Linked DNA regions of Homo sapiens: all the other regions are linked to region 1. The links are contacts of gene promoters, found by promoter capture Hi-C in human tissues and cell types (Jung and others, 2019). All regions are on one chromosome and are shown on one strand. The core of a region is centred on a gene start or on the middle of the fragment in contact, and the rest is flanking DNA. Distances in the headings are between cores, read along the strand shown. Region 1 holds the start of CFL1 (cofilin 1). Region 2 overlaps RIN1 (Ras and Rab interactor 1). Region 3 holds the start of RAB1B (RAB1B, member RAS oncogene family). Region 4 holds the start of MALAT1 (metastasis associated lung adenocarcinoma transcript 1). Region 5 overlaps PACS1 (phosphofurin acidic cluster sorting protein 1). Region 6 holds the start of LTBP3 (latent transforming growth factor beta binding protein 3). Region 7 overlaps PACS1 (phosphofurin acidic cluster sorting protein 1).

What was found. Contacts are between HindIII fragments. The study calls those that stand out against the background at their distance.
Region 2: a fragment that was not itself captured here is called in contact with the fragment with the promoter of CFL1 in region 1 in 2 of the 25 tissues and cell types used here (dorsolateral prefrontal cortex and spleen).
Region 3: a contact is called between the fragment with the promoter of RAB1B here and the fragment with the promoter of CFL1 in region 1, in 2 of the 25 tissues and cell types used here (lymphoblastoid cells and spleen).
Region 4: a contact is called between a fragment that was not itself captured here and the fragment with the promoter of CFL1 in region 1, in 2 of the 25 tissues and cell types used here (dorsolateral prefrontal cortex and lymphoblastoid cells).
Region 5: a contact is called between a fragment that was not itself captured here and the fragment with the promoter of CFL1 in region 1, in 1 of the 25 tissues and cell types used here (spleen).
Region 6: the fragment with the promoter of LTBP3 here is called in contact with the fragment with the promoter of CFL1 in region 1 in 1 of the 25 tissues and cell types used here (dorsolateral prefrontal cortex).
Region 7: a fragment that was not itself captured here is called in contact with the fragment with the promoter of CFL1 in region 1 in 3 of the 25 tissues and cell types used here (lymphoblastoid cells, mesendoderm cells and spleen).

The regions. Positions count from the first base shown.
Region 1 is chr11:65,856,930-65,860,724 of GRCh38, forward strand. CFL1 (cofilin 1) reads right to left here and starts at 1,251. Exons shown (of 4, transcript NM_005507.3): 1 at 1,168-1,251. The coding sequence starts at 1,170. MUS81 (MUS81 structure-specific endonuclease subunit) reads left to right here and starts at 3,504. Exons shown (of 16, transcript NM_025128.5): 1 at 3,504-3,795. RefSeq lists silencers at 817-1,216, 2,627-2,706, 3,757-3,795 and enhancers at 823-1,363, 1,297-1,346, 1,737-1,806, 2,367-2,456, 2,977-3,026 and 2 more. The HindIII fragment of the contact is 15,299 bases long and covers 1-3,795 here.
Region 2 is chr11:66,328,628-66,332,879 of GRCh38, forward strand. It overlaps RIN1 (Ras and Rab interactor 1), which reads right to left. Exons shown (of 10, transcript NM_004292.3): 10 at 1,614-4,125. The coding sequence ends at 3,649. Among named protein-coding and RNA genes, the nearest start is that of RIN1, 5.7 kb to the right of the region's middle. The HindIII fragment of the contact is 6,220 bases long and covers 1-4,252 here.
Region 3 is chr11:66,266,919-66,271,170 of GRCh38, forward strand. RAB1B (RAB1B, member RAS oncogene family) reads left to right here and starts at 1,721. Exons shown (of 6, transcript NM_030981.3): 1 at 1,721-1,775. The coding sequence starts at 1,762. It overlaps KLC2 (kinesin light chain 2), which reads left to right. Exons shown (of 16, transcript NM_001318734.2): 16 at 1-942. The coding sequence ends at 38. KLC2-AS2 (KLC2 antisense RNA 2) reads right to left here and starts at 1,493. Exons shown (of 3, transcript NR_186342.1): 1 at 1,381-1,493; 2 at 1,137-1,290; 3 at 631-913. RefSeq lists enhancers at 1-173, 930-979, 1,280-1,329, 1,450-1,779, 1,940-2,821 and silencers at 430-479, 500-819. The HindIII fragment of the contact is 7,867 bases long and covers 1-4,252 here.
Region 4 is chr11:65,495,296-65,499,547 of GRCh38, forward strand. It overlaps MALAT1 (metastasis associated lung adenocarcinoma transcript 1), which reads left to right and starts at 3,750. Exons shown (of 1, transcript NR_002819.5): 1 at 3,750-4,252. It also overlaps TALAM1. RefSeq lists enhancers at 1,742-2,941, 1,911-2,350, 2,137-2,281, 2,511-2,750, 2,811-2,880 and 2 more, a cis regulatory region at 2,202-2,217 and a silencer at 2,411-2,470. The HindIII fragment of the contact is 3,150 bases long and covers 231-3,380 here.
Region 5 is chr11:66,157,331-66,161,582 of GRCh38, forward strand. The region is part of intron 1 of PACS1 (phosphofurin acidic cluster sorting protein 1); the gene reads left to right. Among named protein-coding and RNA genes, the nearest start is that of PACS1, 89 kb to the left of the region's middle. The HindIII fragment of the contact is 3,109 bases long and covers 510-3,618 here.
Region 6 is chr11:65,555,974-65,560,225 of GRCh38, forward strand. It overlaps LTBP3 (latent transforming growth factor beta binding protein 3), which reads right to left and starts at 2,386. Exons shown (of 28, transcript NM_001130144.3): 1 at 1,656-2,386. The coding sequence starts at 1,986. RefSeq lists silencers at 2,215-2,454, 2,505-2,664. The HindIII fragment of the contact is 15,125 bases long and covers 1-4,252 here.
Region 7 is chr11:66,121,935-66,126,186 of GRCh38, forward strand. All of the region lies in intron 1 of PACS1 (phosphofurin acidic cluster sorting protein 1), which reads left to right. Among named protein-coding and RNA genes, the nearest start is that of PACS1, 54 kb to the left of the region's middle. The HindIII fragment of the contact is 8,035 bases long and covers 1-4,252 here.

The DNA of each region.
Region 1 (3,795 bases), core at 1-2,500:
CTCTGCGTCGTGCTTCGGGGTGCCCGAGCCAGGAGAGGGAGGGGCAATCCAAGGTAAATCTGGTCCCCCAAACTCCCCGGAACTGCAGAAGAAGCCGGCCACGTGACTCGGCCGCATCCGGAGTGGGCGGGGACAGGAGATCGGCTGGGCCCGGCCCCCTCACCAATGCAGAAACGCGTATCCGAGAGGCAGCAGCATCTCCAGGTCCCTAACCCTGTGGAATCGCCCTAAAACAACGGGTGTATCAGACCCATCTCCTGCAGGCAGGAGCCTGGGCAAGCTACATAACCTTCGGTTTTCTCAGCCCTCGGGCCGTATACAGGGGGCGGGGTGGTTTCCGGGCGGTGCCCGCCTGGGTCACTTCCCTAAACTCGGCTCCACCCTCACTCAGGCCCATCCGGGAAGGCCTCGCTGGCCCAGGGCTTCGGCACCGGCGGCCGGGCCTGAGCGTGCGCGCACGCGCCGACAGACAGCGCCGTTCCAGCCCTCGCCCGATGCACGGGTGAGAACGCAGCTCGTTAGATGCGCTCCCGAACGGGCCGCGGTCTCTGCGATGCCCCCTCCAAGCCTTGCGGTGCAAGGCCTTAATCGCAGGCACCCACGCCCCAACCGGGACCCCGTCTTCCCAGCATCACCCCTCGCCGCGCCAGCACCCGCCCCTCCCGGGCGCAGGCATCCCTGCCACCTGCTCCCGAGACGGACCCGGCTGCCGAGGGAGGGTGACGCGCAGACAGGAACAGCCTTGGGTGGGGCGCGCGCGCCGAGACCTCTCGCGCGCTTTTTCCTCGCCGCCCCCGGGCCGGGTTTGGACGCCGCATGCTCCAGTCGAGAGCGCGCCCCTAAGAAGAAAGGCGCGACGCCGGCCGTTCCGCGAGGGGCGCCCCAGCGCGCGCCCCGAACCCCTCCCCCCGCGGCCGGTGTCCGCGCGGGCGCACCAGCGGGTGGGGGAGGGGAGCCCAGGCGGAGCGCGAGCGACGTCCAGACCGGCCCTCCCCGGCGCCCACGGGCGCGCACGCGCATTCCGGCACCGCCCGCCCCTTCGTGCGAGACCCTCATCCCGCCCGGGGCGCTGGGGGAGGGGGTGCGGACGTCGCTCCCCAGTCGCTTCCCGCGCGCAGGCGACCGACCCGCAGCCGCCTCCCTCAGGCGCCGTGGCCTGCCGCTCACCATGTTTCCGGAAACGAAAAGGAGAGGGCACCGAGAGCCGCAGAAGACGAGAGCGCTGCAGCCGCTGCCGGGACCCGACTGAACGCGGCCTCTCCCGGCCCCTTCCGTTTAGTAGGAGCCGCACAATGAGGGGTGGGGCGGGCTTCCGGCGCTCCCACCGCGAGCCGACGGGAAATGGAGTCCGCTGGCCCTGCGCCGCCGCCTCGCTCGCTGGGTAACGGAGTCTTCCCGCCGGCCGGCTCCGAGCTGCAGTGCATGTAGGGAAATGTAGGCCCAGGTCCTGGGCGGCACCGCAGCGCGCAGCGCGAGCCCATTGGTCCAATTTCCCAGGAACCGCTCTGAGCCCGGCGAGGCGGCGCTCAGTAAAATGACCCGAAAACGATCCCCGACTAAGCGGCTCTTTATCCCACAGCAAAACGGCTTTCTTAAGACCCATCTGGTATTATCTGGATCCCTTGGCCTGAAATTTTTGAGTGAGGTTAGGGTTTTGCATTTCTGAATCGAAGCAACTATTGATTAGCCTGGAATCCCGACCTAAAGCAAAGGAAATCACAAGTATGAAGGCGTCGTCAGTCGGATAAACACTAGTACTCTGCATGTGTAAAGCCACTCTCGTCTCCTGAAAAAAGGCCATGTCCAACGTCAGTAAAACAAGAATAGGAGGAAAAGGCACAGGGGAAAGGTACAAGGAAATCTCTGAGAGCTTTGTTCTTGTTTAAAGATGTTTGGCAAAGTCATGAGGCGTTAAAGGGTAAAGACGAGGGTTTGTGCATTCAATTCAAGGCTTCTTTACATGCCTTTACGTGCCAATGAGAAGAAATAGATATTAAACCAGACTTGAACCCAGCTCTCGAGTTGATAGCCAGGTACATGGTTATTCTAACATCCGCAAAACTGAGACAAGTTCTGTGGTAGTATATGCCTTAAAAAAAAAAAGAAACGAGCGGGGGACTCCGGGATGATTTTGTTGTTCTAGAACAGTGACCACAGCCTCACACTCTGCAGGAAAAGACTGGGTCGCAAACAAGTCAGAGGCAAACCCAGAAAGGGAACTGGGGGCCCTAATCCTATAAACGGAATTAAGGGTGTAAACGGAGAGCGATGCCTGGGAGTGGGGTACCTTGCAGAGCATACCGGGGGTTGTAGTCGGGGACATTCCACAGCACCGCCCCCGCCCGGACTCCCGGCGCTCCAGGTGGAGACAGCAGCTTGACCCCGCCTCCCGCGAGCGACCCTACATGAATATGAGGCTAGCGCCCCCTTTTCTGAGCCTTAGAGTTTCCAAGAGCAACGGGGAGAGAGAGGGGGGCTTCGCAGTTACCCTGGAGACGCGCTCTCGCCCGCCCCCAGCCGCGGGATGCCCTAGATGTCCTTATTAGGACAAGAGACTCGAGGGGGCGGGGCCAGCCCGACAGCCGGCTTGAGGCTCCTTATAAGGCCGCGGCGGGCGGGAGGCGGGAGCCGGAGCCCATTGGTCCAATTTAGCTTGGCTGGGGCTACTGCGCCGTGGGCTAGGCACAGTCCTGAGGGGCGGGACTGGAGCTCTGGCGCCCACCTCTCCCTTCCTCGCAGGCTGGAGACCTGCGTGTTGCGACTTCCGGCATAGCAGCTAGAGGCCGGGTGCTGCTTCAAACCCTGGCGGGTCGCCTGTGTCCAACTCAGCTATACGTGTCTTTCAGGCTTCTCAGGTTGAAGCCCTTTGTAGGGTTTCCATCTTCAACCTCCCTGAGGGTCTCCCACTTCCGATTAGCCACAAAAATGACGAAGTGTTCTCCCCTCTACCTGTGTCTGGGCTTCTTAACCCGCAGCCTGCTCCTCCGCTCCCAAACCCAACCGCGTGCCCATCTCAGGCCTCCCCAACTGCCAGGATGCCCAAGCACCTCTTACTTACAGTCCTCCTTCCTCTAGGCCTCTGACCCCCGACATTCCGAGTTCTATTTTGGGCCTTCTCGGCACGTCCCCGACTTCCTCTCCACCACACACTCTTTGCCCTGTATCCCGGGGATGAGGATCACCATTTCCTCCAAGGGTCCTGCAGCTCCTCCTGCCTTACCTTTGTGTCCTCATCCCCGGCACCCATTTCTGGGTGTCCCTCCCACCAATACGTTTGCACCCGTTTGTCTCCTAGCCCCCGCCTCTCCTGGACTCTTTTCAAGACCAGTCTCCATCTCCAGCCTCCTTCAAGCTTGAGGCTGAAGCTGACAATCTTAAGAGACCTTAGAGCCGCCAAGCTCAGGTTAGTCCGTTAAGCGCCGCCCAGCCAGTCCTCCCCGTCACAGGGGGCGCTGTCCGCCTTCCTCTCGCCTACACAAAGACCCCGCTCTCGAATCTGGGGTGACAGGAAGGAGCCGGTCCAGGCTCCGGGGGCTGGGAAAGGGCGCGTCTCAAAGGCTGGCTGGAGTGGAGCCAAGGGAAAAGATCGTTAGAGACAGCGCCCCTGACCAACCACTTAGAGCAGCGCAGGGGTGGGAGGGCGGCCGCAGGCTCTCCTCTCGTTAGTGCCCCCTGTGTTTGGGGCCCCGTGATCTCAACGGTCCTGCCCTCGGTCTCCCTCTTCCCCCGCCCCGCCCTGGGCCAGGTGTTCGAATCCCGACTCCAGAACTGGCGGCGTCCCAGTCCCGCGGGCGT
Region 2 (4,252 bases), core at 1,390-3,889, 470 kb after region 1:
GCCCTTGAGATTTAACTGCGAACAAGGTGGGGGTGGCTCTGGCATTCTAGTGAGGGAAACAGACAATAAACTTGCATACAGAACCACCGTGACTTTAGGAGTGATAAGGTCAATGCTTCCAAGTAAGGAAATGACCCGACTGCTCTTTCATAGATCCAAACGTCAGAGTTCCAGTCTTGCCCTGCAGCAGCGGACGCTGGGCCAGGCATGTCACCTCTTGGAGCCTTGGCTTCTTTTTCCATAAGGACAAAGGCTGGGGAAGGGGTGGCATGGAATCCCTAGGACACAGTGAGCTTTCAGTTACCACCCAGATCACGCCATGCAAATGGAGAGATGTGACCTATTTCCCTTTGGCTGGAGCTGGGGGCGCTTGGTGCTTGGTCTATAACAGACACTTCTGTTGTTGTTGTTGTTGTTTGATTTTTTTTTTTGGAGTCTTGCTCTGTCGCCCAGGCTGGAATGCAGTGGTGTGATCTCAGCTCACTGCAACCTCCACCTCCCAGGTTCAAGCAATTCTCCAGTCTCAGCCTCCCAAGTAGCTGGAACTACAGGCGTGAGCCACCTTGCCCAGCTAACTTCTATATTTTTAGTAGAGATGGGGTTTCACCATGTTGGCTAGGCTGGTCTTGAACTCCTGACCTCAGGTGATCTGCCTACCTCGGCCTCCCAGAGTGCTAGGATTACAGGCCTGAGCCACCTTGCCCGGCCTATAACAGATGTTTGATAGATGTGCTGAGTGGACATATAAATCAGCCCCTCTGCTTTGAAGGACTACAGAACCTGGTGTCTGAGCCCTTTGTCCTGTAACAAGGCACTTTCCCTGAGCAAGTCTGAGTTTTCTCATCTGTAAAATGGGGCTAGTGAGACTGGTCTTACACTGGCCTATCATTGTCTGCCTTGCCTGGAGGCTCTGCCCCAGGATCATAATCTTGTTGATGCTGATTTGGCCTGGACCCCTGACCAATCAGTTTCTTTTTTGTTTTCTTTTCATTTCTTTTTTTTTTTTGAGATGGAGTCTTGCTCTGTTGCCCAGGGTGGAGTGCAGTGGTGTGATCTCGGGTCACTGCAACCTCTGCCTCCCGGGTTCAAGTGATTCTCTTGCCTCAGCCTCCCCAGTAGCTGGGACTACAGGTGTGTGCCACGACGCCTGGCTAATTTTTGTATTTTTAGTAGAGACGGGGTTTCACCATGCTGGCCAGGCTGGTCTTGAACTCCTGACCTCAGGTGATCCACCGGCCTCGGCCTCCCAAAGTGTTGGGATTACAGGCGTGAGCCACCAGGCCCAGCCCAGAGTTTCTTGAGAAGAAAAACCACAAGACCCAGGCAGCAGCTCCCTGTGGTGCCCCATCACTGGGGAGGGCAGGGAGGGGGTCAGGTCATGCTGAGCCTGGCAAGGGTGGGAAGGGCTTGTAGAGGCCCCAGAGCCTCATTCCCATGAGGCCAGTTGTACATCCGGCCCCTGGGATCCTCCGAGCACCCTCTACAAACATTCCAGGTCCTTCCTCTGGGACTGAGCTTGACACATCCCGTGTTTGATTCCCAGAACCGAGTCCTCCCTTATACTCCCCAGGTTTCTGCCTCACTGTCCCTCACTCCTGGTTATCAAACTCCAATCAGTGAACAACATTTATTGAACACCTATGGCATTTGTGCTCAGCATTGGACTGTGTGAGGCACTAGGGGTGAGTGGTGAAACAGGGAGGGGAATAGAAGAGCCAACGGGACACTTCCTATCAGCGAGAACCTTGGGAGGGCGTGGAAGTGGGGAGGGAAGAGCTGCTGGTGGCCTAGTGACAAAAAAAATGGGAGCCGTGCAACTGGGCTGTATCTGGACTGCTCATCTGAAAGTCAATGTCTGGCTGGGTGTGGTAGCTCACGCCTGTAATCCCAGTACTTTGGGAGGCCAAGGCGGGCGGATCACCTGAGGTCGGGAGTTTGAGACCAGCCTGGCCAACATGGGGAAACCCCGTCTCTACTAGTAACACAAAAATTAGCCAGGTGTGGTGGTGCACACCTGTAGTCCCAGCTACTCGGGAGGCTGAGGCAGGAGAATCACTTGAACTGGGAGGCGAAGGTTGCTGTGAGCCGAGATGGCACCACTGCACTTTAGCCAGAGCGACAGAGCAAAACTCCATCTCAAACAAACAAACAAACAAAAAAACCCAAAAAGCCAATGTCCACGATTTCTACCTCCCAGTTGTCATGTCTGACATTTGGGCTGACGTCCCCTCTGTGCTCAGTGCCCGAGGAGAGAGCCTCTGGGGTCATCCTCCATAAGGGGACAATTCCTTCCTTCCTGGGGATGGCCCCCAAGAGGCTGGCCTTACCCAGACCCCAGAATCTAAGGGACCTGGGGGCCAGTGGCCTTGGCCCCTGCGCTGTCCCCAGGTTGCCTGATGCTGCTGGACTGCAAGGCCCGGGACCCCCTCTGCTGCTGCAGCCTTGGAGGCGCCCTCACCCCTGGGTGGTCACCCTCTCGGCAGATTCCCGGGCCGTGCACACCCCCTCGTGGTTGGTGGTCGGCACTTTTCCTTGTTTGGATTTGCTGCCTGCTCTGGGCTTCCTTGGGGGCTGCCCCGGCCTTTGTGGGTGGCTTAGAATGGAGGGTGGAGTTGGAACCTGATGCCCTGGTTTGGGCGGGGGAACCCTTAAGGACTTGCTATATGACATCCTGGGAGTCACTTTCCTGACCCTCAGTGGGCCCAACAAGTCATGGCCAAGTAAAGCTTTTGTGAGGGCCAAGAGTTTAGTGCAGAGAGCATGGTTTCTGAGCCCCCTCTCCATTCTGGAAGCTTATCTGCCAGCTGGTGGATCTCCCCAGAGATGCTGGAGGGCCTGGGAGGACTCCAAATCTTGGGGAGAGACTGTAACTTGGGTACTTTCTCCCCAGGGCCTGATTTCCAGGGGAATAACCTCCCTGAACTGGGCATCAGCAGGTGGGAGCCCTGTCTGGCAGAGAGCGGACTCCGGGAGAGAGTTAGCAGCCCAGCTCTCTCCCTCCCTTTCTGCCATGAGCTCTGCTTGTAGCAAAATCACCCATTTTGATCACTGGGACACTTCTGGGAGCCGAGCAGGGCAGCAATAGTGTCCCCACTTTACAGATGAGAGTACTGAGGCTTGCAGGTGCAGGTCCTTCTGGTGTCCAGGACAGGGGTGGGCCCCAAGCCTTTGCTGCTGTTCTGTGGCCTCTCTAAATCCTCCTGACACCTAAGAGCCATTGGAACCTTTTAGGGTCTGGAAGTCCCAGCCTGGTGGGAGATACTTGGGTGGAGCCCTGCCTCAGCCATGCCCATGAGGGGAAGGGTAAAAGGAGCTGAGACCGTCACCCTCCCCACGTCAGAGGTTGGGCATCTGTCGGATTCGCCCCCACTTGGCACACCCTCATTGCAGGCTGGCTCACCCTCAGCTGGGGGAGAAGAACAAGAGGCAAGGGGCCTTGGGCACACAGTCTGGGGGCCCCCGAAGCCCCCTCATCTTTATTCCAGTTCCTCAGATGTGGCAGTTCCCCCAGCTTCCCTGGAAACAAGTATCAGACAAAGGTGGTGGCAGACACAGGACAGGGCCCTGGGTGGGGCTTGCTGGCGCTAAAAGGATTTCTCAGCAGGCTCAGGGTCTCCCGCCCCGAATGACCCTTCTGGCCACTTCAAGCTACTCCTCTGCTGCCCGGCTTCCCTCTGCCTCTGGTTCCCCTGGCTGAGCAGGGCCTTCCTGGGCTTGACCCTGGCCCCCTTCAGCAGTTGTCTCAGACTGTTCCCGAATGTCCCTGGGGCTGGCTTTGACCCCAGCATCCCCATCTCCCTGGCACCCTTGCTCCTCCCCTCTGCTTCTTGCCTCTGACTGCCCACTGCCCTCCTCCTCTGTCACAGCCCCCTGGGTCTCAGGCCACTCCGCCCGGCGGTAGACGAGGTAGCCAGTGGTGGGCAGCCTGTGGGCCAGGGCCCCAGGGGGCAGGCGGTGGTAGCCCTGCTCCTTGTACAGGAAGAGGCCAAAAGTGTTGGGCTGGGTCACTCGGAACTTGGTGGCACAGAGCTGGTTCAGGGTGGCAATCGAGGCTTCTGGGGGCACGGCCAGGGTCTTGGAGGTGCAGCCACTGCTGGGATCCTGATAGGCTACTCGGAGGAGGTGCTATGCAGGAGGAGAAGCAAAAACAAGTACTCAGCCCCGGCTGGCATGCATCTGGCTCCAAAGCTGAGACATCAGCTTTCTGGGCTGTGCAGGGACAGGGTGGGTAGGTGGAGATCCAGTGGGAGAA
Region 3 (4,252 bases), core at 471-2,970, 410 kb after region 1:
CCATGGACCTCTCCCGACGAAGCTCCCTGGTGGGCTAATGCTGAAGGGGCAGCCAGTCACCAGAGCGCCCACCTGGCACACCCCCCTCACCCCAGCCCTGCGCATGGGCCTGCTGCTTGTCCCGCCTGTCTCTCCCACAGCCCCTGTCTTTTCTGTTCAATCTCAGGGTAACCTTCTCCCTTGTCATCTCAGCCTGAGCCCTGGAGGCTGGGCCTGCCCACTCCAGCTCCATCCCTTATTTATTCCTTCCAGCAGGGCCCTCTTCCCTAGGTTCGGGCCAGCAGGAGGTGCCGGCTGGAGTCTCCACCATAGACTCAGTGGCCTGGCCTCCCCAGACCCCAGAGCCAAGAACACTAAGCACTCGCCGGCCCTTCGGCACCCTCGCCCTCCCTCCCGACTCAACCCGGCCGTTGCTTCTGTATATAGAGAAATAAGTTATTGGCCGCGCGCCTCCCTTCAGTCCACGGTACTACCCGGGCCTCCCCTCGTCCCTCTTCTAGTGGTACCGCCCAGGCCTTAATCACCCCCATTCCGTGCGGTGGTATCTCCCAGGCTCTACATTCTCGGGAGCGGCGCCTCCCAAGGGGGTCCTGGGACCTTCTCGCGCTCCTCCTGGCCTCTGAGGGATGCGTCCTACCCGCGCCATCGCCCCGTGGCCCAGGACGGGGACCTCCCCTTAGTCCGTCCTCCCACCGCCGGGCCCTGCCCCGCATCCCGGCCTTATGCACTGCCCCTCCCACCCGGCCCCGCCCAGGCACGGCCGACCCCGCCCCGGGCACCGCCCACCGAGCCATCCTGCCTCGCCTCCCCCCACGCCTGCAGCTTCTCGCGAGGGGCGGCGACGGTCCCCTGGTGGCAGGAGGGGCTCCCCCTGTTGCGGGTGAGGCGGCTGCTCTCATATTTTCAGATGTTGCTGTAGAAATAAAGACGGTTTAAATCTGAGCTGGGCTTGTTTTGAGACGGAGGTCGGGGGCCCCCAGCGTCTCTAGACTGGGGTGGAGCCGGGAAGGGTCGTGCGTGAGTGGGGGACAGTGTGTCTCGCTCAACCGCTGTCCGCGCAGCTGGGCCCAGATATTGTGCCCCACCCCGGAATTGCGTGAGGGGCCCACAAGTCAGGCTTTCCCTAAAACACTCACTTGTGGGGTTCTGGAGACCGCGGGCTCTTATGAGCTCTGCTCCTCACAAAGTTTTTGACCTTGAGTGAGTTTCCCGAGACTCAGTTTTTTCATCTATGAAATGCGGGTGATGACGCGCGGCTGCGAGTTAGGACTGCCCAGTACACGAAGAACCCTGGACAAATGTACTTTTATTAGTCTTACTAGAACCCACATTCTCATTTAATGTTCACAACGTGGGTATTGGGAGGGCAAGGATGACTACCTCCGTCAGACAGATGTGAAACGTGCCAAGCCCAGCCCTAAATTGAGCTTTCTAAACACCGAGTCGCGGTCAGGCTTTCCAGCACTGTCCTCAAGCCTGAGTGCGTCCGGAGTGCAAACTACAAGCCCCAGAAGGCAATGCGCCAGCAGTGATGGGAGTGGGCGCGGAGGCGCGGGCTCCCCGACTACGCCTGCGCAGCGGGGCTGAGTTGGAGAACGTCTTAGACTACAAGTTCCGGGAATCAGCGCGGCGAGGCCTGAGAAGAAGACGTTTGCGCCTGCGCGTCGCGGGCGGGGCCTCTGGGGCGGAGCGGCCACCATCTTGGAACGGGAGGCGGAGCAGAGTCGACTGGGAGCGACCGAGCGGGCCGCCGCCGCCGCCATGAACCCCGAATAGTGAGTGAGCCCCGCCCGCGCCGTCCAGCGCAGCCTCGATCCCGAATACAGGGCTGTACGCTTACCGGGGTTGTCTGGCCCGGGTCAGGACTGTGCGGCGCCCCCACATCCGGGTCCCTCTTCCGCTGACCCCCCCCCACATCCGGGTTCTGCCCCTCCCCCCAGGGGCCCCAGGACCCCGGCTCAAAACCCCGAGCCCTCGCACCCGGGGCCCAGACGTGGCGACCCCCAGGGGCAGCTCTTGGAGCTCGAGACATCGGTCCTACCAGGCCTTATCGGTCAGATGACCCCGCAGTCCCGGTCACTTCAGGCCTCAGTTTCCCCACCTGCTGCTTGACAACTGTCCCGGAGTTTTGGAGCCCGTCTTGATAGTTTCTGGTCTCGGGTTCAGGCTTGGGCCCTTTAGGTCGGGCAGTGAATCCCTCTACCCTTCTCTTTCTCCTGAAGCCCGGCTCCTGGGGCCGGCCCAGAAGCTAGCCAACTACGCGGGAGGCCCCGAAGCGCCGCTTGGGTCGCGTCTCCCGCAGGTCCTCTCTTCCGGGGCTGCCTCCTACCCTTTGCCTGGGTCGCGCTGTCCTGTCGCTCCCGCCGGTCCGTCCTTTCCCGCCCTCTCCTCGCTTTTGCTCAGGCCCCCAACGCCACCGTCACACCCCTTCCCTTGGCTGTCACACTGCCTGTGAAGTTTAGATGAATATGGAATTTGCTCTCCCCCTTCCTGTGGGATTCTCTGGTCCTCAAACTCTCCTCACTCTTGGTCACTCCCCCTGCGGGTAGGTGGCCCACATCTCATGCCCAGGACTAATAGTTTTCCCCAAGTATCAGTTATCTTCTTCCTTTTCTGCCACTTCCTTTTTCTACTCCACATCCAGGTCTCAGATTTCCTTGGGGAAGGGTGAAGCTCTGAGCTGGATTGGGAGGGGAACAGAGAAGGGAACCAGCAGGCTCTCGAAGGGACTTTGGAGTCTGAGAAACCTGGTTTGAGTCTTAAAGCGATAAACTGTGTAAGTTAGGGCAAGTCACTTCCCTTCTCTGGCCTCTGGTTTCCTCATTAGTTGACAATGACAAAACTGACTTCATTGAACTGTTGTGAAGATTAAATGAGATGATGCATTTAAAGTACTTCACACAGGGTCCGTCCACAGGTTGGAACTCAAGTATATTAAATGTGATTACCTTTTGCCTTTTTTTTTTTTTATTTTGAGACAGGGTCTCTCTCTGTCACCCAGGCTGGAGTGCAGTGGCGTGACGATGGCTCACTGCAGTCTCCAACTCTTGGGCTGAAGCAGTCCTCCTGCCTTGTCCTCCTGAGTAGCTGGGAATACAGAGGCACACCACCACACCTGGCACATTTTTTAATTTTTTGTAAAGACAGGGTCTCGATATGTTTCCCAGCCTGATCTCAAACTCCTGGGCTTAAATGATTCTCGTGCCTCGGGCTTCCAAAGTGTTGGGATTACAGGTGTCAGTCACTGCACCCAGCCTTAAGTGCAATTTTCACTGCAACTTGACCACCTCTTCCTGGTGACTTCATAACAGGTTTTTGTTGTTGTTGTTGTTGTTGTTGTTGTTGTTGTTGTTGTTGTTGTCTCCAAAGAGATGGGGTTAGCCGGGTGCGGTGGCTCAGGCCTGTAATCCCAGGACTTTGGGAGGCCGAGGTGGGTGGATCACGAGGTCAGGAGATCGAGACCATCCTGGCCAACATGGTGAAATCCCGTCTCTACTAAAAATACAAAAATTAGCTAGTCATGGTGGCGCATGCCTGTAATCCCAGCCACTCTGGAGGGTGAGACAGGAGAATCACTTGAACCAGGGAGTCGGACGTTGCAGTGAGCCGAGATCGTGCCACTGCACTCCAGCCTGGTGAGAGAGCGAGACTCTGTCTCGAAAAAACAAAAGAAAAGAGAGACGGGGTTGTGCTGCATCACCCAGGCTGGTCATACACTCCTAGGCTCCAAGGATCCTCCTCCTGTTTCAGCCTCCCCAGTAGCTGGAACCACAGGCACACGCCACAGCACCCAGCCATCAGTCTCTCTACGTGGGTTTTCAACTTAATAGGTTCTAGGCTGGGCCCTGGCTTCTACTTCTGGGGCCTTCTCTGCCAAGCTAGGCACACGCAGGGCATGTACTGGGGATTCCCTAAATAGCTCCTACTGGACCAAACCATGAAGTTTCAGAAATCAGGTTAGGATACCCAGCTCTGTTGCCTTGGCAGGTCACGTGTCTTGATTTCTTTCTCCATAAAGTGAGAATTTAGACTCAGCAAGCTGAGAGCCCTTTGGGCTAGCTGTTTGTGGAGGGAGGCATCAGCCCTCCCTGACCGGGACTGTTGGGAAGATCTGGTGAGCACCATAGTATTCTAAACCAAGGGATGGCCAGGCGCAGTGGCTCACCCCTGTAATCCCAGCACTTTCAGAGGCCAAGGCAGGTGAATCAATTGAACCCGGGAGTTTGAGACCAGCCTGGGCAACATAGTGAGA
Region 4 (4,252 bases), core at 556-3,055, 360 kb before region 1:
ATCCAACCGCCTTGGCCCCTTTATGGGTTTTCACATTTGTGGATTCAAACAACTGTGAATCAAAAATATTTTTAAAGGCCGGGCATGGTGGGTCACACCTGTAATCCCAGCACTTTGGGAGGCCAAGGGAGGCAGATCATCTGAGGTCAGGAGTTCGAGACCAGCCTGACCAACATGGTGAAACCCTGTCTCTACTAAAAATACAAAAAAAATTAGCCGGGCGTGGTGGTGCGTACCTGTAATCCCAGCTACTCGGCAGGCTGAGGGAGGAGAATCGCTTGAACCTGGGAGGTGGAGCTTGCAGTGAGCCGAGATCGCGCCATTGCACTCCAGCCTGGGCTACAAGAGTGAAACTCCATCTCAAAAAAAAAAAAAAAAAAAAGAAAAATTTTTAAAAATTGAATCTGTATTGAACATATACAGACTTCGTTTCTTGTTATTACTCCCTCATTAATACAATATAAAAATTATTTACGTTGTATTAGGTATTATAAGCAAACTAGAGATGATTTAAGGGATATGGGAGGATATCTGTAGGTTACATAAGGAACTTGAGCATCTTCAGATTTTAGCATCCGAGGAGAGGTTTTAGAACCAAGGCCCCATGGATACCAAGGGATGACTGTACAACATTCTGGCGGCTGGGCACAGTGGCTCAAGCCTGTAATCCCAGCACTTTGGGAGGCCGAGGCGGGCGGATCACGAGGTCAGGAGATCCAGACCATCCTGGTTAACACGGTGAAACCCTGTCTCTGCTAAAACTACAAAAAATTAGTCGGGCGTGGTGGCGGGCGCCTGTAGTACCAGCTACTCGGGAGGCTGAGGCAAGTGAATTGCTTGAACCAGGGAGGCGGAGGTTACGGTGAGCCGAGATCCCGCCACTGCACTCCAGCCTCAGCGATAGAGTGAGACTTCGTCTCAAAAAAAAAAAAAAAGAAACATTCTGTAATCTGTCAAGGTAATGGAAATTAATGCAGTGACACTGACAATAATTTAAAGCATTTTAGGGCTCTTAACGTTCATCTCACTCGCTCTAGAGTGAAGGAGAGAGCAGAGAGTACAGAGCAGGTCCTAGGTCCTCCCCCAGATATAGAAAAACCGCAGTTGGAGAGACTGACAGAAGTGCTGGAGAGGAAGGGAGGCAGCAGGACGTGGAAAATCTGGGATTCAAGAACAGCTTCTGCTATTAATTAGCTGTGTGTCATTTCAGGCAAATCACAAAATCTCCAGGCCCCCAAATCCCCATTTGCGAAACGAGGTGACCTGCCTCAGTTTTCCTTCATCCAGCGATAAAATTCTACTAAAAAATTTCCAACCCCAGAGCAAGCATCAGGACTGTGCCTGAAGGGATCCGGCTGCATCTCAGTAATATTCCACTCTTACAGGCTTAAAAATAAAAAAGAAAAGAAAAGAAAACAAGAACAGTTTCACCAGCGTCAATTGAGAACAGCTGCTTCAACAGGCCCTGCTTTATGTGGGCAGGTGGGGACAGGGAGTTGGCCCAGAAAACAGGACCCTCATTTCCTGGAGCCCCCAGGGCAGCTCCCCAACACCGTACACAACCTGCATCATTTACAGGAGCCAAAGGAGTTTTAGAAATCAACTTCATAGAGTTGCTGTATCATTGTGTTAGTTTTGCCATCCTAACCTATACAGCGTCACTAATCTCTCCCCTCGGAGTTGACTGCCTAAAAACAAGCCATGGATACAGGTTCCAAAGACCCGGGGGTGAGGGAGCGGAGAGGGTGGGTGTCACCACCCCGTCCAGCTCCAAGCTTTGTGTGCCCTGGAACTCTCCATTTTAGGTCATTGCTTCAGTTTCTTTTCTAAAAAATTAGGCTGCTGCAAGGTCAGCCTGAGACCACTTCTGCCCCGAGAATTCTAGACTAGTAAGACCTGGTGACATACAAACGACGAAGATATTTTACAATAATGCCATGGCCCTTGATAGCTACACGAGGTTTGTGTTCTGATTTTAAATTAATGGATGACGTCGAGACTATATGGAGGAAATGACAAAGGACAGGAGAGAGGTGGGAAAGGAAGACCTAGACTGAAAATGGAAGTTGGGCAGCAGCTCCACGAAAGAAAGACCAGCCCCCAAGTGCAGTGACAGCGCAGAGTAGCGACCGAGAAGTTCCCAGGCCAGCTGCCACCCCGCCCCCATGCCATTCCCCAGAACAGGCACAGGCGTTAGGGCGGGGCGCGCGTGCGCAGTCACGCGCTGCGCCAACCGCCACAGCTCCGGGAAGGCGGCCAGGACCGGCTAGAGCCGGTTAGAACCAGTGGCGCCCGCCCACGAGCCAGCGCCTCACAAAGGGAGGGCGGCTCACGGCCCTCGCGTATCCCTGCGCGGCGCTCGCGAGCCGCCCCTCCCCCGGCGTTTGTCCCTGACGCAGCCCCACCGGTTGCGCAGTCCCTCCCCGCCCCCGCTCTCCCCTCCGCAGCCTGCAGCCCGAGACTTCTGTAAAGGACTGGGGCCCCGCAACTGGCCTCTCCTGCCCTCTTAAGCGCAGCGCCATTTTAGCAACGCAGAAGCCCGGCGCCGGGAAGCCTCAGCTCGCCTGAAGGCAGGTCCCCTCTGACGCCTCCGGGAGCCCAGGTTTCCCAGAGTCCTTGGGACGCAGCGACGAGTTGTGCTGCTATCTTAGCTGTCCTTATAGGCTGGCCATTCCAGGTGGTGGTATTTAGATAAAACCACTCAAACTCTGCAGTTTGGTCTTGGGGTTTGGAGGAAAGCTTTTATTTTTCTTCCTGCTCCGGTTCAGAAGGTCTGAAGCTCATACCTAACCAGGCATAACACAGAATCTGCAAAACAAAAACCCCTAAAAAAGCAGACCCAGAGCAGTGTAAACACTTCTGGGTGTGTCCCTGACTGGCTGCCCAAGGTCTCTGTGTCTTCGGAGACAAAGCCATTCGCTTAGTTGGTCTACTTTAAAAGGCCACTTGAACTCGCTTTCCATGGCGATTTGCCTTGTGAGCACTTTCAGGAGAGCCTGGAAGCTGAAAAACGGTAGAAAAATTTCCGTGCGGGCCGTGGGGGGCTGGCGGCAACTGGGGGGCCGCAGATCAGAGTGGGCCACTGGCAGCCAACGGCCCCCGGGGCTCAGGCGGGGAGCAGCTCTGTGGTGTGGGATTGAGGCGTTTTCCAAGAGTGGGTTTTCACGTTTCTAAGATTTCCCAAGCAGACAGCCCGTGCTGCTCCGATTTCTCGAACAAAAAAGCAAAACGTGTGGCTGTCTTGGGAGCAAGTCGCAGGACTGCAAGCAGTTGGGGGAGAAAGTCCGCCATTTTGCCACTTCTCAACCGTCCCTGCAAGGCTGGGGCTCAGTTGCGTAATGGAAAGTAAAGCCCTGAACTATCACACTTTAATCTTCCTTCAAAAGGTGGTAAACTATACCTACTGTCCCTCAAGAGAACACAAGAAGTGCTTTAAGAGGTATTTTAAAAGTTCCGGGGGTTTTGTGAGGTGTTTGATGACCCGTTTAAAATATGATTTCCATGTTTCTTTTGTCTAAAGTTTGCAGCTCAAATCTTTCCACACGCTAGTAATTTAAGTATTTCTGCATGTGTAGTTTGCATTCAAGTTCCATAAGCTGTTAAGAAAAATCTAGAAAAGTAAAACTAGAACCTATTTTTAACCGAAGAACTACTTTTTGCCTCCCTCACAAAGGCGGCGGAAGGTGATCGAATTCCGGTGATGCGAGTTGTTCTCCGTCTATAAATACGCCTCGCCCGAGCTGTGCGGTAGGCATTGAGGCAGCCAGCGCAGGGGCTTCTGCTGAGGGGGCAGGCGGAGCTTGAGGAAACCGCAGATAAGTTTTTTTCTCTTTGAAAGATAGAGATTAATACAACTACTTAAAAAATATAGTCAATAGGTTACTAAGATATTGCTTAGCGTTAAGTTTTTAACGTAATTTTAATAGCTTAAGATTTTAAGAGAAAATATGAAGACTTAGAAGAGTAGCATGAGGAAGGAAAAGATAAAAGGTTTCTAAAACATGACGGAGGTTGAGATGAAGCTTCTTCATGGAGTAAAAAATGTATTTAAAAGAAAATTGAGAGAAAGGACTACAGAGCCCCGAATTAATACCAATAGAAGGGCAATGCTTTTAGATTAAAATGAAGGTGACTTAAACAGCTTAAAGTTTAGTTTAAAAGTTGTAGGTGATTAAAATAATTTGAAGGCGATCTTTTAAAAAGAGATTAAACCGAAGGTGATTAAAAGACCTTGAAATCCATGACGCAGGGA
Region 5 (4,252 bases), core at 814-3,313, 300 kb after region 1:
TATATGATGAGTCATTTAGGTTTCAACTTCATCTGCTCCACTAAGTATTTGCAGTGGAGGAAGCTAACAGGAAGCAATCCTGTTTTCAGCCACATGTGGGCCATGTTCTGAGATAAGTTTTAGGTACCTGTGAATATAGGATATACACTGGGGCTGAAAACAGGAAAATGAGTTGAAAGTCTGAATGTGGAAGAGTTAGCACCCCAGATCCCCATCCCCAAAGAATATGTGTGTCAAAGTCTAACCTGGGGAAACCCTGTTATAAATGAGGGTGGGAGGCAGGTTTCTTACCCAAAATAGTAGATCAAGTTGAAGTCTGCATATTCAGCCAGATCTTTCCACCTACCTTCCTGTCTTGGCTGTGGGACTTGTTATCACAGACACCATCTCTGCCCACCAAGACATTGAAAGACCTCAGAGCAACTGACCCATCCTTGGCTCCTAGAATACTCATTTATAAGCCCCTCAGCCAGGACATTATCACATTTCTGTCTGGGGAAATTGACTAGCCTATGGGAAAAAAAAAAAACCTAACATGGTATTTAGAATTTCCTTATCCCATCACATGCTGTGAGGTCCCACAGGAAGCAAGCGGTGCTTATCCACATAGAATTTCTAGTTAGCTCTTTAGCACCTCTTTTGTTTTTTGAGACAGGGTCTGGCTCTGTTGCCCAGGCTGGAGTGCAGTGGCATGATCACAGTCTTGGCTCACTGCAGCCTCCTTCCCCTGGACTCAAGTGATCTTCTCACCTCAGCCTCCCGAGTAACTGAGACTACAGATACGCGCCACCACACTTGGCTAATTTTTTTGTATTTTTTGTAGAGACAAGGTTTTGCCATGTTGCCCAGACTAGTCTCGAGCTCCTGAGCTCAAGTGATCCACTGGCTTTGGCTTCCCAAAGTGCTGGGACTACACGTGTGAGCCACTGTGCCCGGCCTGCACTTTGAAAAACAAATTCCTTAGAGATAAGATGTTACATCAAGGAAACAAGAGCAGGATGCCATGTAAAGGAACTATTCAAGAATGTTCTTGAGAATTGAAAAATCTCACTAAGTGAAGATTGCAGTAAAGCAGTTGGAAGATAGGCCGGGCGTGGTGGCTTACAACTGTAATTCCAACACTTTGGGAGGCCAGTGTTGATGGCTCACTTGAGACCAGGACTTTAAGACCAGCCTGTGCAATATGGTGATGATACCCTGTCTCTACAAAAACAGAAAAAACTAACTGGGTATGGTGGGGCACACCCCTAGTTCTAAGTACTTGGGTGGCTGAGGTGGGAGTATTGCGTGAGCCCAGGAGTTCTAGGCTGCAGTGAGCTATGACCACACCACCACACTCCAACCTGGGTGGCAGAGAGAGTAAAGTAAAGCAGTTGGTCAAAGATAATAGACAATAAGTGGAAGAAAAAAGAAAATTAAAGGACATCTAGGAGGTCCAACATCTGACTATTGGAGTTCTAGAAAGATGAAGGACAAGGCATTATTTAAAAAGCAACACAAGAGGTTTTCCCCAAAAATGTCTCAGATGGATAAGAGCTCACCCAGTGTCCAGAATGAAAAAAGTGATGAAAAAGACCCTCAACAGAGTACATTGTCATGAAATTTTGTGACACTGATGACAAATTTTAAAAGCATCAGAGAGAAAAGTCACATAAAAATGATCTAAAACAAGTGACATTAGACCAGTTAACAATAGCACTGGGATCTATAAGATAATAGATGAATGCCATCTAAAGCCTGATGGAAAAATTTTCAGTCTATAATTCTACACCTAGTCAAACTGTCAAATCAAGAGTGAAAAATGTTTTCAGAAATGCAGGGTCTCGGCCGGGCGTGGTGGCTCACGCCTATAATCCCAGCACTTTGGGAGGCCAAGGCAGGTGGATCACCTGAAGTCGGGAGTTCGAGACCAGCCTGACCAACATGGGGAAACCCCATCTCTACTAAAAATACAAAATTAGCTGGGCGTGGTGGCACATGCCTGTAATCCCAGATACTCAGGAAGCTGAGGCAGGAGAATCACTTGAACCCGGGAGACGGAGGTTGCCGTGACCCAAGATCACGCCATTGCCCTCCAGCCTGGGCAACAAGAGCAAAACTCAGTCTCAAAAAAAAAAAAGAAATATTGAGTCAAAGAGTATGTGCATATGCAAGGTGGGGAGACATTACCAAACTGCCCTCCATAGGGGTGTGCCAGTTACATTCCCACAAGCTAGGTACCAGTGCCTGCTTCCCCACAGCCTGGCCAAGAGATTGTCGTAGGTTTTTCAGTTTTGGGGGTGGGGGAGCGGGTGGTATTTGCTGATCTGGTAAATGTAGGATGGCAGCTGTTTAGTGTTGATCAATCCACCCTTATGAGACTGACATGGAAGGTTACTCCACTTTCACAGAAACAGTGGAAAAAGTCCAGCTATCTTTACATTTAACAAGCTGTAAGGAAATGCTAATGGATTAAGAAATTAACCACAGGACCTAATTAGAAAAAGATCTGGCAACATGCCCAGCTCATCCAGCGGGAGAGGGAGAAAATATTCTGCATTCGTGACACTGTTTAGAAAGGGGTAATTTAAATGCCCTTTAATCTGGGCTAGTATTGTCCAATTAAGAAGTCTGTTAGGATGATAACACTTGGGTTTTTTAATACTTAGTGTGGTGAAGCAGATTTATTTTCTCCCCTTAGTATATTTATATTGAATGGTAAAGGTTATAGTTTAATTAAATAAGCTACACATTTCCTGTTTTCTTTTAAACCACTGTGCTAGGAGTTAGATTCATTAAGAGTTGGACATGGTCTCTGTTCTTCAACACATTAGCGCAATGTGACTGTAATTCAAATTGGAGTTTGACACCCAAGTTTTATATCTAATTTAGGCAGCCTAACCTAGTTAACACAGATTGGTGCTAGATCCTGGCTGACACCTACTAGCTGCGTGACCTCAGGTAAACTACTGAAGTTTTCTGCACCTCAGTTTTCTCAAATATAAAATAAAGATTATAATTGTTTTGAAGATTAAATTATATACATTGCACATAACAGTATCTGGCTTATAGTGTTATATGTTTGCCAGTATGATGTTACACCCCCACAAATTGTGAAAGTTTTGTTTAAAAATATATTTTCCTGATTAAAAAAATTAATGCATGATCTTTATAGGAAATGTGGGATATATAGAAAAGCTTATTTTTTTTTGAGATGAGGTCCCTTGGCCAAGATGGTGTACGGTAGCCCTAACATGACTCACTGTATCCTCAATCTCCTGGGCTCGAGTGATTCTCCCACCTCAGCCTCCCAAGTAGCTAGGACTACAGGCATGTGCCACCATGCCTGGCTGATTTTTTTTTTTTTTTTTTTTTTTGGCAGGGGAGTGAGGGTGGGGATGACGTCTCACTATGTTTCCCAGGCTGGTCTTGAACTCCTTAGGCTCAAGCGATCCTCCTGCCTCGGCCTCCCAAAGTGCTGGGATTATAGGTGTGAGCCACTGCACCTGACCAAAAAGCATTTTTTAAAAACTCATCTATCACCTCACCACTAATAGAACAGTGTTAGCATCTGGGCACATCCTCAGAGGCAGTCTTGCTTGCATTGTGGTTAAGAACATGGACTCTGAAGCCACCTACCTGGGTTCATATTCAGGTCCCGCTGTTTACTAATCTCTGTTCATCTCTCTCAGTTTCCTCATCTGTAAGATGTGGCTAATAGTACCCCTCACTTAGTGAGGATAAAAGATGCTAATATATGTAGAGCATCTAGAATAGGCGAGGCAGAGGTAAGTGTATGTGTTTGTGTTGTTGTTGTTATTCTGTGTGTATGGCCAAAGTTTAAAGAAATTTCATCAGCCTCTGAAATAGAGAATATATATATGGCACTCATGAGTGGTGCCGGCAGGCAAGAAGTGCTACAGGGGATAAACAAACATACACAAATATGTAATTTCCGTGACTGGCAGATGGCTGAAAGGCACTAAAAAAAAATTAGCCGGGCGTGGTGGCATGTACCTGTCATTTCAGCTACTCAGGAGGCTGAGGGAGTTAGGATCATAAGAGCCCAGGAGTTCAAAGCTTCAGTGAGCCGAGATCACACTGCTGTACTCTAGCCTGAGGGACAGAGCAAGAATCTATCTCTAAAACGAAAATAAAAACACCAAATAAATAAAAATAAAGAAGGCACTAGAGTGGAGAAAGGAAACTGAAGTAGAGCGGATGGAATCTTAGTTCCCCCTAGCTAACTGGAAAATAATTTCTTCCTGGGCAA
Region 6 (4,252 bases), core at 1,136-3,635, 300 kb before region 1:
GGGCGGGGGGAGGTAGGATTCTCTTTTTCCTTTCTGCCAGTGAGTCACTCATAGCGGTGAGAGTGACCTCCCAATGACACCCGCCCACTGTGGCCTGGGCACCGAGCCTGGGGGATGTGGGCAGCACAGATGGAGACAGCAGCCTGGGCAGGATGGCCAGGGAGCCTGGGAGATGGACACACGTACACTCACACCCACAGTCCTCTTGTCACACACACACAGAGACTCATCCTGACACCAACACAGGTTCACATAAACATTCCCATACATTTGGCCGGGCGCAGTGGCTCACACCTGTAATCCCAGCACTTTGGGAGGCCGAGGCAGGTAGATCACTCGAGATCAGGAGTTTGAGACCAGGCTGACCAACATGGTGAAACTCCATCTCTACTAAATACAAAAAAATTGGCCAGGCGTGGTGGCGCATGCCTGTAATCCCAGCTACTTGGGAGGCTGAGGCAGGAGAATCACTTGAACCCAGAAGGGGGAGGTTGCAGTGAGCTGAGATTGCGCCATTGCACTCCAGCCTGGGTAACAAGAGCAAAACTCCATCTCAAAAACACAAAAACAAAAACATTCCCACATACTCTCTAACAGCGACTAGAGACACACACCCAAGACAACACAAAGACGGGTACTTCACAGTGTGCCACGCCATGCCCATGGCATGACCCCAGACACAGGGGCAATATGCGCACAGACACACGCACGCACACCCCATCTCATGACAAATTTGAGCCACATGAGTGGGGTTCCTTAGCTCTGTGAGTGGGAGAGTGAATATAGGAATGTGTAAGAGGGGCTGTTTTGCTGGTGCCATCCTGGGCCTGGCCTAATTACCCTGTCCAGGAGGGTAATTACTGCTGGGACACCTCCCCGAGCCTGGCCCACGGGGCCTAGCAGGAGGATGACTGAGCCCCAGGCCTGGCCCTTTAAAGAGAGATGCTGGGGAGGGGGTGGACTCCAAGCTGAACTGGGGAGGGTGTAGGGGCTTGGGGGAGGATGAGGGGGGCCCTGAGGGCCTCTGAGGCAGGATGTTAGGAGCTTATGGGGAGGCATTGGAAAAGGAGAGGCTGAGAACCCCGAACTAGTCCCTACCTTCAGGCCTGCACCCTACTTTTAGGCCTCAACACCCTCCCTACTCAGACCTTGCCAGTAGCCGGCTCCCATCCCCAGCCCTGACCTTAGCTCCTCCTCCCAGGGAATGCAGGTGTCTACTCTGGCAGGCCCTACTTTAGACATTTTGTAAAGACTTTTCTTGTTTCTTCCAGCAAGTCTGCTTCTTGCGGGAATATTTAGCCCTTCTCTGAGGCTTCCTGTCCCCGGCTCACATTCCTCAAAAACCCTGTGTGCTCCTGCTCAGAACTCAGCACCTTCTGGGAAGCCAGTGTCATCCAGGACCTCTGCATTTCCCCACCCCTTAGGCCCCAACCCTAACGCAAAGCTTCAAAGTCCAGGCCTCCATGCAGCCCTCCAACTCTGGCCCCCAGAGTTCCAGCCTCCCAAGTTCCCTGAGGCCCCTGGTCCCCCAGGCCCTCGGATCTCTGCCCTTTATACCCTCAGCCCCCAGTCTCTAAGGCCAAGACCCCACTAGCTCTCCCACCGGGCCTGGTGCCTGTCCTTCCCCTGCCCCCAGCCGTGCCCCCGGCCCTCACCCACGCGGAAGCCGGAGCCCGTGAGCGTGTCTGTGCTGTGGCCGTTCTCTCCGATGAGCGTCATGTTGGAGCCCTGCTGACAACTGTCCCGACACTGGCCCTTGAGACAGGTCCGCTTGCAGATCACCGGCGCAAAGACCACCTTGAAGCGCTCGCGGGCCAGCGCCCCGCCCCCGCCTGCGCCCCGCTCGCCGGCCGGCCCCCCCTCGACCCTGCCGCCCAGGCCCAGCAGCAGCAGCAGCAGCAGCAGCAGCAGCGCCAGCAGCCCCGCCGCCCCCGCCCCGCGCATCTCAGGGGCCAGGCCGCCAGCAGCCCCTCGGGGCCCGGGCATCCGGGGCCGCAGGACCCGGGGGAGGGGGGGCGCGCCCGGGCGGGGCGAGGGGCCCGCGCCCGAAGGGAGTAGAGGGCCGGGAGCCCCGGGAGAGGGTAGGGGGCAGCGAGGGAGGGCAGCGGGGGAAGCGGGCGGGAGGGGACCGCGGGGGCCCGGCGGGAGGCGCGGAGATGCAGACTGGACAGCGGGGAGCGCAGAAACTTCCCAGCCCCAGGACGAAGCCCAGACCAGGCCCCGAACTCAGGCAGGAGCGAGGAGGCCGGAGCAAGTTGAGGCGGAGAGGAGGAGCGAGGGAGAGGAAGGCCGGGCGGCCGGCCCGCTCCGCGCCTCCCCCTGGCCGGGCTCCTCTCCCGCGGCCGCGGGGAGGCAGGGAGCGCGCGGGGAGGGCTCAGGGAGAAGTGAGCAGTTGTTTTCCCTGGCTGGAGCGCGGCGCGGCGGCGGCGAGGGGGGCTGGGACGCTGGCCCCGGGCCAGGGACACAGTTTTTTTTTTTTTGTTGTTTAAAGCGTCGCCTCTGCCGCCTGGAGAAGCGAGGGTGTGCAGGCTGGCGGAGGCTGGGGGGTGGCGCGGGGACAGTCCCCACCCCAGATGCCCGCCCCCGCCGGAACCCGCGGCCGCGCTGGGCCCTTTCCAGAGGGCCCTCACCTGGGACCGTCTGGCCGGCCGCGGATTCCTCCGGGCGGGGCGGGGCGGGGAGGCCTGCGTAGAGCGAGATACCGAGGCTGAGGGAGAGAGGTGGCCCTGCCGGGTCACACTGACGATGGAGGCCGGGTGGAGCCGGAGCCCAGGCCTTCCAGCTCTTTCCCAGCCTCCCTTGCAAACGTGGGGGTCTCAGGGCCCCAAAGTAACTTCTCGTTAGTGCTGGTCCAATCCCCTCTGAGGAAAGGGCTAAAGGGTGGGGACAGCCTTTGGCCAGGGCTCACGGAGGTCCCAGGAGGAAGTCTGTGGGGTCCAGAAGAGGAGCAGAAAGAACAAAGCTAGAACCCAGCTTCCCTGCCAGCCCCCTCGGAATGGCTTCCTGGTGCCCACCCTGCCACCTCCCCCCTTTCCTTTCGTCTGGCCGTGCTGGCGGGGCTGGCTCTGGGCCTCAGACACTCTGGAATCGCCAAGGTCTGAGCTCAGGGCCTGGCCCCCTTCCCAGGCTAACAGCCGGGAGGACGGGGGCGCTGTCCGAGGGCCCAGGGGCTGGAGAGGGGCACAGCAGAGCCCCAGGGCAGGGGCTGGCAGCGGCTGGGGGTGGGGGTCTTCAGGTTGGCCATGGCTGGAGAGGAGCATAGTTCCAGACCAGGCTTGTCCGCTGGTCTGGAAGGAAAGGCTGCAACGTGCGGGGGCCCAGGCCTTACTGTGGGGCCTGCCAGGAGACCCCAGGGTTCCGTCTCTGACTCACAGAACTCAGCAGGAGGTGGGGACGGCTAGGGCACATCCAGGAAAAGCGCTGCCAAGTCAGGGCGGCACCAGACCCTCTCCCGGACAGCACCCGGGGCAGCAGTCTAATTGGGGAGAGGAGGTTCAGGGACTCACTTTCAGGCACACCTGTCCAAGGAACTCTGTTTTTACTTTGAGCGTAAGTTGATGTGGGTAGCTTTAGGGGGACGCTTAGTAAGTCCCCCTTACTAAGCGGTGCAGGGCTGGGAGGGACAATCACATGTCCCCAGGGATCCCTGCTGCCGGAATCCAGGATGGGGTGTGAGGGGCAAGCCCCTGCTTCTTGGGGCCCTGGTCCACACGGAGGCAGGGAATAATGCTAGGTGCCGACCACCTGCCAGGCACAGGGCTGAGCATTGTATACTCATTTTTTCCTAACACTCATCTGAACCTGTCCTGACTCTGCCTAGAGCTGGCTGTGGCTCACCATGGAGCACAGCACAGTCAAACAGTCCAGGGTTGGATTCTTACTGTCTCTAAGCCCCAGTTTCCTTGCTTGTGAGATGGGTATCTATTCACTCAACATCTATGTTCAACTACTGGTAATAAAAAACAAAAAATTAAAAAATAAATGTAAAAAATTCACTCAACAAACTGAGACTCCACCACATCCTAAGCTCTTGGCCACAAATAGAACCAGTCCTGCCTTCCTGGAGCTGCTGTACTAGGAGAGCTGGATATGTGCCAGATCAATTCACACAGAACTGTGGCTACAACAGAGGCTGGTACCGTGACAGAGAAGGGCAGGGAAGCAGGACAGGAGAGGGCTGGGACCTGGGAGACAAAGAGAGTCTTCCATCGGAAGCTGGAAGATGAGTAGGAGTGAGTCACACCTGTGGGCA
Region 7 (4,252 bases), core at 1,290-3,789, 270 kb after region 1:
ATGAAGGTGGCTACACTAAACAACAGATTTTCAGTGGAGATGAAAGAGTGTTCTGTTGGAAGAAGATGCCATCTAGGACTTTCATAGCTAGAGAGGAGAAGTTAGTGTCTGGCTTCAACATTTCAGAGGACAGGCTGACTCTCTTGTTAGGGGTGAATGCAGCTGGTGACTTTAAGTTGAAGCCAATGCTCATTGACTATTCTGAAAATTCTAGAGCCCTTAAAAATTATGCTCAATCTACTCTGCCTGTGCTCTATAAATGGAACAAAAAAGCCTGGATGACAGCATATCTATTTAGAGCATGGTTTACTGAATATTTAAGCCCACTGTTGAGACCTGCTCAGAAGAAAAGATTCTTTTCAAAATATTACTGCTCATTGACAGTGCACCTGGTCACCCAAAATTCAGATGGAGATGTACAAAGAAATTAATGTTGTTTTCATGCCTGTTAACCACAACATCCATGCAGCAGCCCATGGATAAAGGAATATTTTCAGTTTTCAAGTGTTATTAGTTAAGAAACATTTTGTAAGGTTATAGCTGCCATAGGTAGTGATTCCTTTCATGGATCTGGGCAAAGTAAATTTAAAACCTTCTGGAAGGGATTCACCATTTTAGATGCCATTAAGAACATTTGTGGTTCATGGGAGGAGGTCAAAGTATCAACATCAACAGGAGTTTGAAAGAAGTCGATTTCGACTCATGGATGATTTCAAGGTGCTCACGACTTCAGTGGAGGAAATAACTGCAAAAGTGGGGGAAATGGCAAGAGAACTAGAATTAGAAGTGGGGTCTGAGGATATGACTGAATTGCTGTAATCTCGAGATAAAATTTGAACAGATGTTTCTTGTGGATGAGCAGAGAAAGTGGTTTCTTGAGATGGGACCTACTCCTGGTAAAGATGCTGTGAACACTGTTGAAATGATAATGTATTACAATAATTTATAACAATAACTATGTATTACATAAACTTAGTGATAAAGCAGCAGTAAGGTTTGAGAGAACTGAATCCAATTTTGCGAGAAATTCTGCTGTGGGTAGCATGCTATCAAATGTATTGCATACTTTAGAGAAATCTTTAATGAAAGGAAGAGTCAGTGTGACAAACTTCATTGTCTTATTTTAAGAAATTGTCACAGATACCCCAACCTTTAGCAGTCACCATCCTGATCAGTCAGCAGCCATCAACATTGAGGCAAGACCCTCCACCAGGAGAAAGATTGCAACTTGCAGAGGGCTCAGAAAATTGTTAGCTTTTTTTTTTTTTTTTTAATGAGACGGAGTCTTGCTTGGTTGCCCGGGCTAGAGTGCAGTAGCATGGTCTTGGCTCACTGCAACCTCCGCCTTCTGGGTTCAAGCAATTCTCCTGTCTCAGCCTCCCAAGTAGCTAGGATTATAGGCACGTGCCACCATGTCCAGCTAATTTTTGTATTTTTAGTAGAGACAGGGTTTTGCCATGTTGGCCAGGCTAGTCTTGAACTCCTGACCTAAGGTGATCCACCTGCCTCGGCCTCCCAAAATGCTGGGATTATAGGCGTGAGCCACCACGCCTGGCTCAATAAGCCATTTTTATTTTTTTATTTTATTTATTTATTTATTTTTTTGGGACAGAGTTTCGCTCTGTCGCCCAGGCTAGAGTGCTGTGGCGTGATCTCGGCTCACTGCAAGCTCCACCTACCGGGTTCATGCCATTCTCCTGCCTCAGCCTCCCAAGTAGCTGGGACTATAGGCACCTGCCACCGCGCCCGGCTAATTTTTGTTGTTTTTAGTAGAGGTGGGGTTTCACCGTGTTAGCCAGGATGATCTCGATCTCCTGACCTCGTGATCCACCCACCTCAGCCTCCCAAAGTGCTGGGATTACAGGCGTGAGCCACCGCACCCAGCCCATTTTTAAATTAAAGTATATACTTTTTTTTTTTTTAAGACAATGCTATTGCACAGTTGATAGACTACTGTATAGTGTAAACATAACTTTTATATGCACCGGGAAATAAATAATTTCATGTCACTTGCGTTATTGCAGTGGTCTGGAACTAAAGCCACAATATCTCCAAGGAACTGTTTACTTGCTGTCTCGCTATCAGACTGTGAGACTGTCAAGGGCAGGCATTCTGCGCAGCTTTGGCAATACCGTCTAGTTGTAAAAAAGACGGAACTGTTTCAGGCCATGGGCATTCTAGTGGGAAGACAAATATTTAATCTCAAGTGTGCAAAATGCTGCCATAGAACAGGAGTGCAGTGGAGCATAATAGGAGCTCTGGACCTTGTCTGAACACATAAAAGAAGCCTTTTTCCTAAGGAGTGATTGCTTAAGTTGAAACCTGAAGGATGTGTGGGAATTAGCTAAGTGAAGAGAAGGAAGAGTTCCAGGCAGAGAAAACTGTGGACATAATGGCTTTGGGCAAGTTACTCAGCTTCTTCTCTGCTTCAGTGTCTTCATCTATAAAATGGGAATAATATAACCTAGAGTTATATAGTTAGGGTTGTTGTGATCATAAAGACAGTATTTTAAGTCATCATCTTCTAATATTTCTGAAGTGGGGCATAATTGGTTCATTCAGGATAACTTCTGGGTCCACGTTTATGTATTGAATGGCTAAATGTATGGATCTGCTTACTGCACTTTAACCTTGTTCTTTACCTGCTCTGAAGCCTTTCTTGCATTTTAATGACAAGAACGGTGTATTTTGCCTTTCAGTGAGTTTGTTAATTATGGAGATCAAACTCTGCCTTTCATTACTGCATAAGTCTCATGGTGTGTCAGACATCTTAGGTCAGTGTGTGTCATCAGTTAGAATGCTTTCACCTTCAAGAAACAGAAAAGCCAGCTCAATGACTTAAACACACAGATGTTTATCATTTCAGAAAACAAAAGTCTGGGGCAAGGGTGAGTCCAGTGCTGGTTAACTGAGCAGCCTGGCAAAGGCATCAAGGAGCCAAGTTCATTTTGCCCTCCTGCTTTGTCATCCTCAGTACAGGCTTGCCCGCTGGCTCCCCATGGTCTCAGGTGGCCTGTCGCAGTTCCAGGTGCCACAGGGAGACACCAGAACATCCCATTGAGGAGGAGGAACTGTTTCTTTCCATGTCTGTCTCTTTATTGATGAACATTTGGGTGGCTTCCACCTTTTGTCCATTGTGAATAATGCTGCTATGAACATTGGTGAACAATAAATTCTTTTTAAAAATACAGCATCTAGGGGCTAAGCTATGAGGATGCAGAGGCATAAGAATGATACAATGGACTTTGGGGACTCGGGTGAAAGGGCAGGAGGCAGGTGAGGGATAAAATACTGCAAATTGGGTACAGTGTATACTGCTTGGGTGTTGGGTGCACCAAAATCTCAAAAACCTACGGAAATAAAAAATTAAAGTACCACATCAATTAATGCGTAGACCAAATCTTATTGCAATTAAATTTCTACTTTTAGCATCATTTGCTACAATGAAGTTCTAGTATTTGAAATATTTTGAGCCACTGACTTGCTGTTTAATGGGATTTGATCCCATAGTAAAGAAGATATAAACCAAGTAAGTCAAAAGGATCTTAGAAGCAATTTTATTCCATCCTCTATTTTGAAGATGTTCTGGATTCAGAGTGATTTTCCAGGGTCAGAGAGCTAAGTCATGTTAAATAATTCAAAGTGTATGAAAATACACATTACTCACAGATTCAAGTAGAGTAACCAGGGGTGTCTTTTGCCTCTAGTCTTACTCTAACCAGTGTCTAACTATGCCTGTGTAGATAAAATAAAATAGAAAACTGGGATAATTCAGGTATTCAAGTAATTGAAGAAAATCAGTCCTGTTTAAAATATCTGGGCAGGCCGGGCATGGTGGCTCATGCCTGTAATCCCAGCACTTTGGGAGGCCGAGGCAGGCAGATTACTTGAGGTCGGGAGTTCAAGACCAGCCTGGCCAACATGGTGAAACCTCGTCTCTACTAAAAATACAAAAATTAGTCATGCATGGCGGCGCATGCCTGTAATCCCAGCTACTCGGGAGGCTGAGGCAGGAGAATTGCTTGAGTCCAGGGAGCAGAGGTTACAGTGAGCCGAGATTGTACCATTGCACTCTAGCCTGGGTGACAGAGCAAGACTCTGCCTCAAAAAAAAAAAAAAAAAAATGTGGGCAACTCTAATACTTAGCTTTTAGGTATTTGCTTCAGTAGTCCACTTTATGTGTTAGTGTTCGACATTACTAGTGGGATTTTGCTTCTCATGCTCTATTTTCTGATTTCTATCACCAGTGGTT